Regions from separate parts of the Homo sapiens genome. Here region 2 is linked to region 1. Evidence: promoter capture Hi-C in human tissues and cell types (Jung and others, 2019). All regions are on one chromosome and are shown on one strand. The core of a region is centred on a gene start or on the middle of the fragment in contact, and the rest is flanking DNA. Distances in the headings are between cores, read along the strand shown. Region 1 holds the start of BRDT (bromodomain testis associated). Region 2 overlaps GLMN (glomulin, FKBP associated protein).

Evidence for each region. Contacts are between HindIII fragments. The study calls those that stand out against the background at their distance.
Region 2: a contact is called between a fragment that was not itself captured here and the fragment with the promoter of BRDT in region 1, in 1 of the 25 tissues and cell types used here (IMR-90 fibroblasts).

What each region holds. Positions count from the first base shown.
Region 1 is chr1:91,945,617-91,951,430 of GRCh38, reverse strand. It overlaps BRDT (bromodomain testis associated), which reads right to left and starts at 2,030. Exons shown (of 19, transcript NM_207189.4): 1 at 1,749-2,030. The HindIII fragment of the contact is 14,429 bases long and covers 1-5,814 here.
Region 2 is chr1:92,271,019-92,277,143 of GRCh38, reverse strand. It overlaps GLMN (glomulin, FKBP associated protein), which reads left to right. Exons shown (of 19, transcript NM_053274.3): 8 at 5,492-5,679. Among named protein-coding and RNA genes, the nearest start is that of GLMN, 25 kb to the left of the region's middle. RefSeq lists a silencer at 4,935-5,135. The HindIII fragment of the contact is 5,282 bases long and covers 1,915-6,125 here.

The sequences.
Region 1 (5,814 bases), core at 781-3,280:
AAGTATCAAATACATGGGCACAAATGACTGCTGAATATAATTTAAATATTCGAGATACTTACTGTTTTCCTATTCTCCATCCAATAAACCACTGCTTTTATTCAATCACTAGTCACCACATAAATTATGCAATGGTGTTGCTTAAGATCATACAGTTCAACTCACTGTCCTTCATGCTATACAAACCCCTTTATAATCTGCCCCCTTACTAGACTCATCTCTTGCTACTTCACCAATTCCCAACACGGTCAGCGACAGTGAGGCAGGGTATCTGTAGTACTAGCTAGCCAGTAGGCTTAGGCAGAAGAATCGCTTGAGGTCAGTTCAGGCTGTAGTTGGCCATGACAGTGCCTGTCAATACTCCAACCTGGGCAACACAGCAGGACCATCTCTTTTTTTTTTTTTGAGACGGAGTCTCACTGTCATCCAGGCTAGAGTGCAGTGGCCCGATCTCAGCTCACTGCCACATCCACTTCCTCCTGGGTTCAAGCCATTCTCCTGCCTCAGCCTCCCAACTAGCTAGGACTACAGGCACCCACCACCATGCCCGGCTAATTTTTCTATTTTTAGTAGAGATGGGGTTTCGCCATGTCGGCCAGGCTGGTCTCAAACTCCTGACCTCAGGTGATCCACCCGCCTCGGCCTCCTAAGTGCTGGGATTACAGGCGTGAGCGACTCAGGCGATCCTCTGAGATCGCCCAGCCATAGCAGCTATCTGTATTAAAAAAAAAAAAAAAAAAAAAAAAGCAATTATCCACTGTCACATCCTACTCGGTGTACATACATCCATGCCTTTGAGAAACTTCTCTTTACCTGAACTTCCCTCCTCACTTTTTAGTCTAACTTCTATTTGTCCCTCAAGATCAAGACGAGTTATCACTTCTGCCCAAGAGCCTCTCTCATTCCCTCCCATCCACCCAGGCCTTTCCCTTGAGTCCCAAAGTCCCTGTACATACCTCTTTCTTTTTTGGGGGGAGCGGGGAGACGGAGTCTCACTCTGTCGCCCAGGCTGGAGTGCACTGGCGTGATCTCGGCGCACTGCAACTTCCGCCTCCTGGGTTCAAGCGATTCTCCTGCCTCAGCCTCCCGAGTAGCTGGGACTACAGGCGCCTGCCATCACACCCAGCTAATTTTTGTATTTTTGGTAGAGATGGGCATTTCATTATGTTGGCCAGGCTGGTCTTGAACTCCTGACCTCAGGTGATCCACTTGCCTCGGCCTCCGAAAGTGCTGAGATTACAGGGGCGAGCCACTGCACCCGGCCTCCTCTATCTTAATTCTTAATACAGGCCAGCGCGCCTTGAAGTAAAGCCCACCACAATCCTGCAGTACCCAAAAGAGGGTTCAGACGTTCCAGGGGCTTAATAAAGTTAATTGAATAAATAAATGAAGCAAGAACCCGAACTTCCCCGTCCCAAATGACCACTTGCAGAATAAACACAAAATGCCAGCTAAAGCTAAACGCTCCGTACTTTCTCCTGCATTTCCAAAATTACAGTACAGGCAGCAGCGATCCACACCAGTCCAAGACCTAAGAGGAACTACAAAGACCATGAGTATTTTTCAAAATGGGAGGAGGCAGTTGGACAACTGGACCTCCCACTCCCTCGCCCCAACCTCCTCCTTCCCAGCCCTCCCTTGAAGAAAAACCAGACATTTAGGGGAAAAGAGGGAGAGAGAGAAAAAGATCCCTTGGGGGCAACGAGCCTGAAGTTGGTAAGGCCAAAGGGAAGCGACTGGCAACTCACCTGGGCTGCAGGCACGAAGCGGGGTGGCCTTCTCAACTGCCCGGACTGTCGCACGATGTTGATGGGGTCGGGGAGGGGAGAGGGGGGAAAAAACGGTTGTTCCCACCCAAGGCCGCACCTCGGGGCCGGCCTAAGGCAGCACCCCCTGTGGAGGGTACATTACCTGTATGTTACCTGTATATTACAAAACCGACCTTATGTGATTGCCCCTTTCAGGCTGCACAAAATGAAGCGGTGCAGGGCAACAGTTCTCCGCAGTTCCTCGCCGCCAGTTTTTGTTGTAATGGCGGTCGCGCGACAGGCGCTTTTATAGAAGACCCCCCGCGGGCGGCCTGCCCATTGGTCTGAACCTGTCACGTGACCACACCCAGCCCCGGGCGGTGCAAAAAAGGTGTAGGAGTCTGAGCCGGGCAGCTCAGGCCTGTTAGGGCAGGCAGAGTGGGTTCGGGTGATTGCCGTGTAGAGAGCCGGGGGTTAGGAGTAGGAGCGCTACACTCAAGGCGTTTGCTGTTAACACGACGTTTTCACTAATCAGTTAGCCTAGTAGAGGTTCTTGAGTTTTGGCTTCTGATGTTTTCGTGGTTTTCACGCTTTTTTCCCCAGCCTTCTCCACAGTTCCTGTCTCTTGCACGTAGTGAGTGCTTGATCAATATTAGGTAGCAGCTGAGGCTAGAGACATACTCTCTTTGGGTTTAAAGTGGCAATTTAAGAGCTGTTTCGCAACAGCTGCGTACTGATGAGTGCGTGATTTAGGATTTTGAGTCTTCGCAACTACCTCTTGATGGTTTGCAGATACTTTAGAGGTGCTAACATGTATCAGAAGAATATATTTAGTACAGTAGTTTCCCTTAGGATCAAATAGCAAACAACGCTTCTGAATTCCTAATACTCATTCGCAGTGGATGGATGGGAAGGGGAGGGCAAAAACAGCTGACAAGCTGCTCGCAAATCCGGCCAAAAAACCATCGATCTCCAGTTTCCTGAAGCGGAAGTCTGGGGGCCATTAACAGCTTGACACGTCTTAATTCAATCACTTTGATGTGGCAGGAAAGAACCAAGTGTTCACAAGAAAGCAACGCACTTGATCTACTTACTAGACGTCACATAAATACCTGGATTGGCAAGCACTTTTTGTTTAGATTTAATTTTCGTGTTCTTGTTTTTGCTGTTTAAAGTAGTATTAATGGTGTGGCTGCAGGCGCCTGCAATGCCCGTTACTGGGGAGGTTAAAGCGGAAGGCTCACTTAATCCCAAGGTTTCAAGGCCAGCCAGAGCAACAACGTGAAACTCTAATAGATTAGAGATTAGATATAGAGATTATCTTATTGTTCAGGAAAAGAGTAGATGGGTACAGACTTAGGGTGTGACTCTCACATCATGAAAAATCTGAAAGAAGTCAAGGGAAATGAAAGAGAGGAATGACTCAGTACAAATTTTGCCCCAACTATCAACTTTTTGACCTTCCTCTTGAGAATTAGTGGCAGGGAGACATGTACACTCTAGGTAAAGAAGATTGAGTGATTTTTTTGAGATTGAGTCTTGCTCTGTGGCCCAGGCTGGAATGAAGCAATGCAATCATAACTCAAGGTAGTCTCGAACTCCTGAGCTCAAGCATCCTCCTACCTCAGCCTCTCCAGGTACTGTAGGTGCAGACCACCACATTGCCTTCTGAACCATCTTTTAAAAAGCTTAATCTCAGGCTGGGCTCGGTGGTTCATGCCTGTAATCCCAGCACTTTGGGAGGCTGGGGGTGGGGGTGGGAAGGGGTGGATCACTAGGTCAGGAGTTCGAGACCAGCCTGACCAACATGGTGAAACCCTGTCTCTACTAAAAATACAAAAATTAGCTGGGCGTGGTGGCACGGGTCTGTAATCCCAGCTACTCAGGAGTCTGAGGCAGGAGCATCGCTTGAACCTGGGAGGTGGAGGTTGCAGTGAGCCGAGATCGTGCCACTGCACTCCAGCCTGGGCAACAGGGCGAGACTGCATCTCAAACAAACAAACAAAAAGCTAAATCTCATCATGTTACCACCCTTAAAACCTTTCAATTACTTTCCATTATTTTTAGGATAAAAAGCAAACCCCTTAAGATGAGCTAAAAAGTCCTACATGCCTTCAGCTCCAACTACACCTTCAGTAGTGCCCCCATCTTCAGCCAGTGACCTTTCAGCTCTTTCCAGGACCCTATCCTTTGTCTCTGGGCTTCTACAATTGGCTCTTTCATCCTTCCTCCGATCCCACACTGATTCCTCAACTCTCAGGCTGAAGTCATTTCCTCAAGGGGGCCTCCACTGGATTAGGTCTTCCTGTTAAACACTCTTATTACAACCTAATTAAATAGCACTAATTACAACTGTATAGCCAGTGGTATATTTAATGTCTATTTCCTGCACTAGACAGTATGTACCATAAGTGCAAAGTATCAAAAACTTTTAAAGTATATTATCATTGAGTAAATTACCCTTCGATCCTGCCTTTTGTTTTTTTTTTTTTTTTGAGACAGGGTCTTGCTCTGTCACCCAGGCTGGAGGGCAATGACATGATCATGGCTCACTGCAAACTCCACCTCCTGGGTTCAAGCTATTCTCCTGCCTCAGCCTCCCAAGTAGCTGGGACCACAGGCATGTGCAACCACGCCCAGCTAATTTTTTTTGTATTTTTAGTAGAGATGGGGTTTTATCATGTTGGTTAGGCTGGTCTTGAACTCCTGACCTCAAATGATTCGCCTGCTTTGGCCTCCCAAAATGCTGGGATTACAGACGTGAGCCACTGCACCAGGCCCTGCCTGGGTTTTAATGACTCTGGCAAATTAGATTTGAATTAAGGGGGTGGGGAAAGTAAAAAGACCAGATTTGAAGTTTCTTTTGTTTTCTGTTATTTTTGTTTTCTTTTTTTTTTAACTTGAAATGGCTGCAAAAATGGAGAATATGGAGAATGGGTTTATTTGGGAGGTAGACCTCCCCACTAGGATTTGGTATTAGATTAGATGTAAAGATGGTCTGGGTTGCATTGAGCATTTGGAGAATGGCACCATTTACTGAAAGGGAATCAGTCTTAGAAGGTTGAAGATCATTATTTCAGTTTTGAATATTCTGTAAGATATCTAGGTGGAGATTTTGAATAAGAAGTTGATTAACCAGTTCAAAATACAGTCTAGGCTAAAGATGGGAAAGAAGGACAGGAAGGAGGTTAGGAGAGAGTGGAAATTTTTCTAAATAATTATTACAGAGAACAGAACAAGCTGATTGGAAATGTGCATTTAGTAAGACATACTTGAGACAGTGAAGACACAGAAATTGGTGACTGTTTGTGGAGAAATGAGGTAGTAGCATTGAGATTTGCCAGGGGTGTATGACAGAAAAATGGTAGGGGAAAGTAGCTTCAAAAATATGGAAAAGAAAGTGGGCTGGGCGCAGTGGCTCACGCCTGTAATCCCAGTATTTTGGGAGGCCGGGGTGGGCGGATCGCCTGAGATCAGGAGTTTGAGACCAGCCTGGCCAACATGGTGAACCCCGTCTCTACTAAAAATACAAAAATGAGCCAGGTGTGGTGGTGGGTGCCTGTAATCACAGCTACTCGGGAGGCTGAGGCAGGAGAATTGCTTGAATCTGGGAGGCGGAGGTTGCAGTGAGCCAGGATTACACCACTGCATTCCAGCCTGGGCGACAGACTGAGACTCCATCTCAAAAAAAAAAAAAAAGAAAGTGGCTGAAGACTAGGATATTATGAGGCTATTCTATGACATATGGAAATACTCGTAATTATGATTTTTTAAAAAATCATCAAAGAGTTTCAGGTAGCATGCATTTTTCATTTAAATCAGGCTATCACAAGAACATACTTTGGAGACATTTTAACATTTCCATCCTTCACAGTGATTGGGGGATCACCGGGTTGCCTAAGGAGGGAGGAACCAACCCAGGTCAGAAACGGATCAGGTTGGCCGGGCACCGTAGCTCATGTCTGTAATCCCAGCATTTTGGGAGGCAAGGAGGGGTGATCACTTGACATCAGGAGTTCAAGACCAGCAGAGCCAACATGGTGAAGCCCCGTCTCTACTAAAAATA
Region 2 (6,125 bases), core at 3,306-5,805, 320 kb before region 1:
GGGATATAGTTTTAAAGATGAAGAAAGGGCAGATTTGAGAACTTTATAGTAGGTAAAATTGGCAAAATTTGGTCATTGATTGGATTTAGAATAAAACATGGATGAGGGTTTTTGCTTGGATAACTGGGCAGATGAAGGTGCCAATACTTGAGATAGAGAATACAGAGCAAGAATCTGGGGGTCTTGTGCCTTTAAAACAAATGTATTGTAAAAATTTACAAACATTCAGAAAAGTACTAAAAATAATCTAGCACATGCCCATGTACCCATCACCCAGCTTCAATAATTATGAACATTTTGCCAATTTTGTTTTATCTGTCCTCCTCCTTTTCTTGCTGTAGTATAACAAGTCCTAAACATAATTCATCTGTAAGTCTTTAAGGATGCTTCCCTAATGACAAGGGCTTTTTTAAAAAAACAAATAACCACCAGGCTATTATGACACCTAACAAGATTTTATTACCTTTTGTTAAAATTTTTTGAGACAGGGTTTCACTCCCATTGCCCAAGCTGGAGTGAAGAGGCATGATGTCGGCTCACTGAAACCTCTGCCTCCCGGACTCAAGCAGTTCTCCTGCCTCAGCCTCCCAAGTAGCTGGGACTGCAGGCACACATCGTCCCACCTGGCCAATTTTTGTATTTTGGGTAGAGATGGGGTTTCACCATGTTACCCAGGCTGGTCTCGAACTCCTGGGCTCAAGCGATCTGGCTGCCTTTGGCCTCCCAAAGTACTGGGATTACAGGCGAGAGCCACTGTTCCCAGCCTAACTCCTAACAAGATTAACAATAATTTTTTAATATATATCTAATAACCAGAGAGAGAATAGGTTTTTAAGGAATTTAAAATATAATATTTTAATATGTAAATATATGTATATTTAATATAGAATTATATGTAAATGTGTATATATATTTTTTGAGATAGGGTCTTGCTCTGTGGCCTAGGCTGGAGTGCAGTGGCACAACCATGGCTCACTGCAGCCTCAACCTCCCAGGCTCAAGTGATCCTTCCACCTCAGCCTCCTGAGTAGCTGGGACTTACAGGCATACCCCAGCATGCCTGGCTAATTTAAAATTTTTGTTTTGTAAAGGTGAAGTCTCACTATGTTGTACAGACTGGTCTTGAACTCCTGGGCTCAAGTGATCCTCCCACCTTGGCTTCCCAAAGTGCTGGAATTACAGGTCTGAGCCACCATACCTGGCCAGGAGATACTTTGAATGAGAGGGGGTGAGATTACCTAAAGAGGTGACAAGAGAAAAGGGCTCAGGAGTGAACTCTAGAGAGTACCAGCACTTAAAATGAGCCCAAGAAGGAAGTCGGAAGTGGTAGAAATACACAGAAACTGGTGTAGTAGAGTTTTAGAAGGATAGAGGTGATCAGTACTGTTAAATGCATAGAGGTATGCTGAAAAGCATCTGTAGGATTTAGGAAGTAAGATGGCATTGGTAATCTTAGCAAGAACAGTGTAAGTACAGTGTTGGAGACAAATCAGAGTGGAGTTGATAAAAGAATGAATGACAGATGAGAAAAAGGAGATGACTAGTGTAAGCTATTCTTTAAAAGAGGTTGGATGAATAAGGAAGGAGAGGTAATAGCTAGAAGACATGAGCTAAGGGTAGGAAGGTAATGGAGGTGGGAAGACTTGAGCATGTTTATAGCTGTTGGGGTGCAAACTGTTGAGGGAAAAATACAAGTGTTTATGAGATAACTGAAATAATGTGGCTTATGAGCAAATGGCTGGACATAGTATCAAGGCCATAAGGAAAGTCCTAGACAGGAAGAACTAGTGGGTATCAAGGTAAGAAAACATGTTGAGAAATTTGTAGCAGGAATGGAATCTTACAATTGAGGGGAGTCAAACCCACTGGCCTCAGATTTCTAGGTGAAGGAGAGATGATCTCTTAATAATGAGGAGGTAGAAATGGGCATTGAGTAAAAGGGCTTAAGGAAACTGGTAAAGGTTTGGAATACTGAGGGGAAAGGAAAGAGATGGTGGAAGACCACGGAAGCATGAGTCAGTAGTACTGAGCACTCAATGGTGCTTGGAAACCACAACTATAGTGGTAACAGTCTGTATTTTTTTATCCAGCAATACTCAGCTCCCTGTGTGTAGAAGCAGAGAAGGTAGATTGCAGTTATTTTTCCAAGGCTGGCATTTTACTGGGTAGATACTGCTGAAGGAAATACAGGGTGCAGATAGTTCAGCTGGTCAATAATCCATGATTCAGGTTGGATAGGGAAAGAAGGGGGGTTAGGAGGGAATGCCTAGGTAGGTCAAAATGTAGGAATCACAGGACTGGAGAAGTCAGAAGTAGAAAAGCAGATTGCTAGGAGAGACAGGATGACAGATTTTGGTCAGAAAATGGGATATTGGAGTTTAAAGTATCAAATACAGAATAGTTCCAGATGTTCAGAGATCCAGCATGGGATTAGGTACTGAAATGGATTAGAACTAAAAGTCACTAGAATTTAGAAATTGAGAACCATGAGAGTGGATGCAATGACTTGTTGCTTGATTGAAAAATAAATTAATAATAATAAAGGACCATGAGACTAGCCTGTTATAGGGGTTATCTCCATGAACATTGAATTTTCCCAGGATCATAGCAGGAATTGGGTAGAGAAAAAGATTATGAGAAGGTGCCAGAGTCTTCAGTGAATGTCAGGAAATTACCAGGAAGTCAGCATATGACAGAGAAAAGGACAGTATGTTATCTGCATCAAAGGAAAATGTGCTTTTGTTGAAAAGTACAGAAAAAGCCAATACTACAATACTGTGCTAAGCCCCTACCTGTACTCCTCTACCCAACAGCTGCATTCCAGGCCCTGTGGTATAAAAGGTGTGAGAATGAGCATCTCCCACCAGAAATCAGACAGGTTTAGTTAAAGCAGTGAGGCAGAACAAGCATCCTATGAAGAGACTGAGGATGTAGGTGAGTGGTTCTAAAATCTCAGTAGAAGGAACATTGCAAGTAGAAAGAGCCAGCAGTAAGGATGCACGTAGCAGTCTAGAAGTAGAGGTGAGACCAGCTTGGAGATGAAATGAGGAGATGTCTTCTGTTCTGTGCTGGAGAAGTACTGGTAAGTGTGGTGTGGTTGGGATTCACAGGCCTCAGCCATCCTCACTTTGGTACAAGTTATTTTGGTACAGAACTACTAGAATGTCCCAAAGGCTGTAGTACAGGAACATTTCTGAAAGGACAAAAGCTGCCATGAATATTGAGAAATTGTATGGTGCCAGGTACAGCCTGGATCTGAGCAAGACTGCTGGATGGTGTGTGGATAGATAGTGAAGGCCCAGATTTGGGAACAGATTGGATCTCAGATATCCAGAGCAGCACTGTAGAATCTAGTTGCATATAATAATGTTTTAAAAAGGGTATCTTAGGCTGGGCACGGTAGCTCCCGCTTGTAGGCCCAGGCCTTTGGGAGGCCAAGGTGGGCAGATCACTTAAGCCCAGGAGTTCAAGACCAGCCTGGGCTGCATGGCGAAACCCCATCTCTATAAAAAATAAAAAAAATAAAAAAAAAATAGCGGGCATGGTGGCATGTACCAGTAGTCCTAGCTACTCAGGAGACTGAGGAGGGTGGATTGCTTGAGCCTGGGGAAGTCAAGGCTGCAGTAAGCCATGATCATGCCACTACACTCCAGCCTGAGTGACAGAGTGAGACCTTGTCGCCAAAAAAAAAAAAAAAAAAAACAGGGCTACCTTACTCTGGAAAAAACACATGTAGCATTGGCTGAATAAAGAAATGGAGCTTCATGATTAAGGACATTTGGAATCAGAGTGCAATAAACTTTTTGTCTTGTAGCTATAACCAGAATGCATGGCTTTGAAAATCACTGCAGCAGTATATATTTAGCATCTGGTCGCTGAATAGCAGTCTCTTGTGACTGAGGATGATTTTCCATGGTTCCTTTTTGTATTCTGAAATGACTAATGGAACCATCTGGGATCAGCAGATTTTAAGTCCCTGAAGGCTGGAAAAGACTTATACTTGGCTTTATAATTCCCCACAAAGTCAGGCCCAGCACCTTGCACTTAAGTGTTTATTGAATAAAAGAGTGACTTGTGTGGAAGTTATTCATTCTGCTTTAGCTGTTTTTGTCATTCATTCCCTTTTAACTCTTGTAGTTTGTTGTGACTTTAACTTTCTTACGCTTTTTTTGTGGAGCTGCTCGATAAATATTTGACATAGGTATTATGTCATTTTATGGCTCATCCAGTGTCACACAAGTAGTAAATGGTAGAGCCAAAACTCAAAATCAATGTCAGTGGATTCTGAAGGTAGGTGCTTTCTGGTACGCTAGAATTAGTACCAGTATAAGAGGCATAGGAGTGATCTTGTTTCCTGAGCGGAAAGCTTTATTTAGCCCTGTGGTCCTACCCACTCATGCAAGGATGCTTCTCTTTCTCGTCTCACATGAGAACCCTGATGACTGAGAGATCAACAGTGTTTCCTCAGGCCCAGCTGCCCTGCCCAGCGTTCCTGCATCCCACTCTCTACAGGCACAATGTTAGTGGAGCATTGTTCCTAGAGTATTCTTCATCTTAGTTGCTTTACCCTTGCTTCATATATTTGTATGTCTCACGTTTCAGATTGCTCTCAAATATCCCTGAAGCACTTTTTTAAAAAAAATTGTGGTGAAATATACATAAAATTCATCATTTTAAACTTTTTAAACTATGATTCTGAATTAATTTAGAATACTTCTGATGTATAAAATGCTATGTAAAATACGATTTTGCTGTTGGCTTCTGTATTAGTTTTTCATTGCTGTATAACAAATTCCTGCAAACTTAGCAGTTTAAAACAGCATACCTTTGTTATCTCACAGTTTCTATGGATCAGGAGTCCAGCCACAGCTTAATTGGGTCCTCTGCTCAGGGTCTCATTGGGCTACAGGCCAGTTGTTGACTGGGTCTGTAGTCTTATCAGAAGCTTAACTGGGGAAAGATCCACTTTCAGGTTTCCTCCGCTGGCAGAATTCATTTCCTCTAAGCTGTAGGACTGAGGTCCCCATTTTCTTGCTGGCTGTCAGCCAGGGACCACATTTAGCTTCTAGGAGCTGCCTGTAGTTGGTCCCTTGCCATGTAGTTCTGTCCATGAGCCTTCTCATAACATGGCAGCTTAGTTCTTTAAAGCCAGCAAGGGAGAGAGTCAGAGAGCAAAGTTTCTGACTCTCAGGGAAGGCCTGGACCCCCTTTAAAAATATACCTGATTAAGTTAGGGCCACCCAACTCAAAATCTACTGATTTGGGACCTTAATTACATCTGCAAAAACCCCTTCACTTTTGTCATATAATCTAATCATGGGAGTGACATCTTGGCGCATTCTGTTGGTTGAAAGCAAGTCTCATAGGTCCCACTCACGCTCAAAGGGAGTGATTACACCTCCCCTTGGTGAGAATGTGGAGTTTGAATACACGGGGTGGGGGGCATTTTAGAGTCTGTGTGCTATGGTTTCCTTTTTTATCCATTTCATAGGGTTTTTTATCAGCAATTGGACACCCTTTCCCCAAAATGATTTTTAATCATGGAAGGAAAAAGAGAACTTGGAATTACCTTGAATTTGAAGAAGAAGAAAATAAACAGTTAGCAGACTCAATGGCTTCTCTGGCATATCTAGTATTTGTACAGGGCATCCATATTGATCAGCTTCCAATGGTCTTAAGGTAAGAGTTAGTGTTTGGTTTATTCATGTATTCTAAAAGGAATTTCATAAAATTCTCATTTATCTAATGTCCAATATATGCATATTAACACACTAATACATTTTAAATAAATAGTAAAGGCTATTTTTAATAAGAATGATCCCAGCTATAATCTGTTAAAGATAGCAGTAGACAAGTAATGAAAGTGGGGAGTGTTGAAATAGGTGTAAGGGAATGGTGGGGACAAGAATCAGAAGATGATAAACAGGGCTTGGTTTTGAAGCTTTTGAGACCACCCTGGAACTAGCCAGGTACCCAGGGGTATCATCATCTTTTCACTGGATTACTGCTGTAATCCTGAGTGGATTTATATATCTACTTTTACTTCCTTTTAATTTAACACATTCTCAACATACCAGAAAGCGAAGCCTTAAAAGAAGTCCCTTACTGAAAACCCTCCAGTGGCT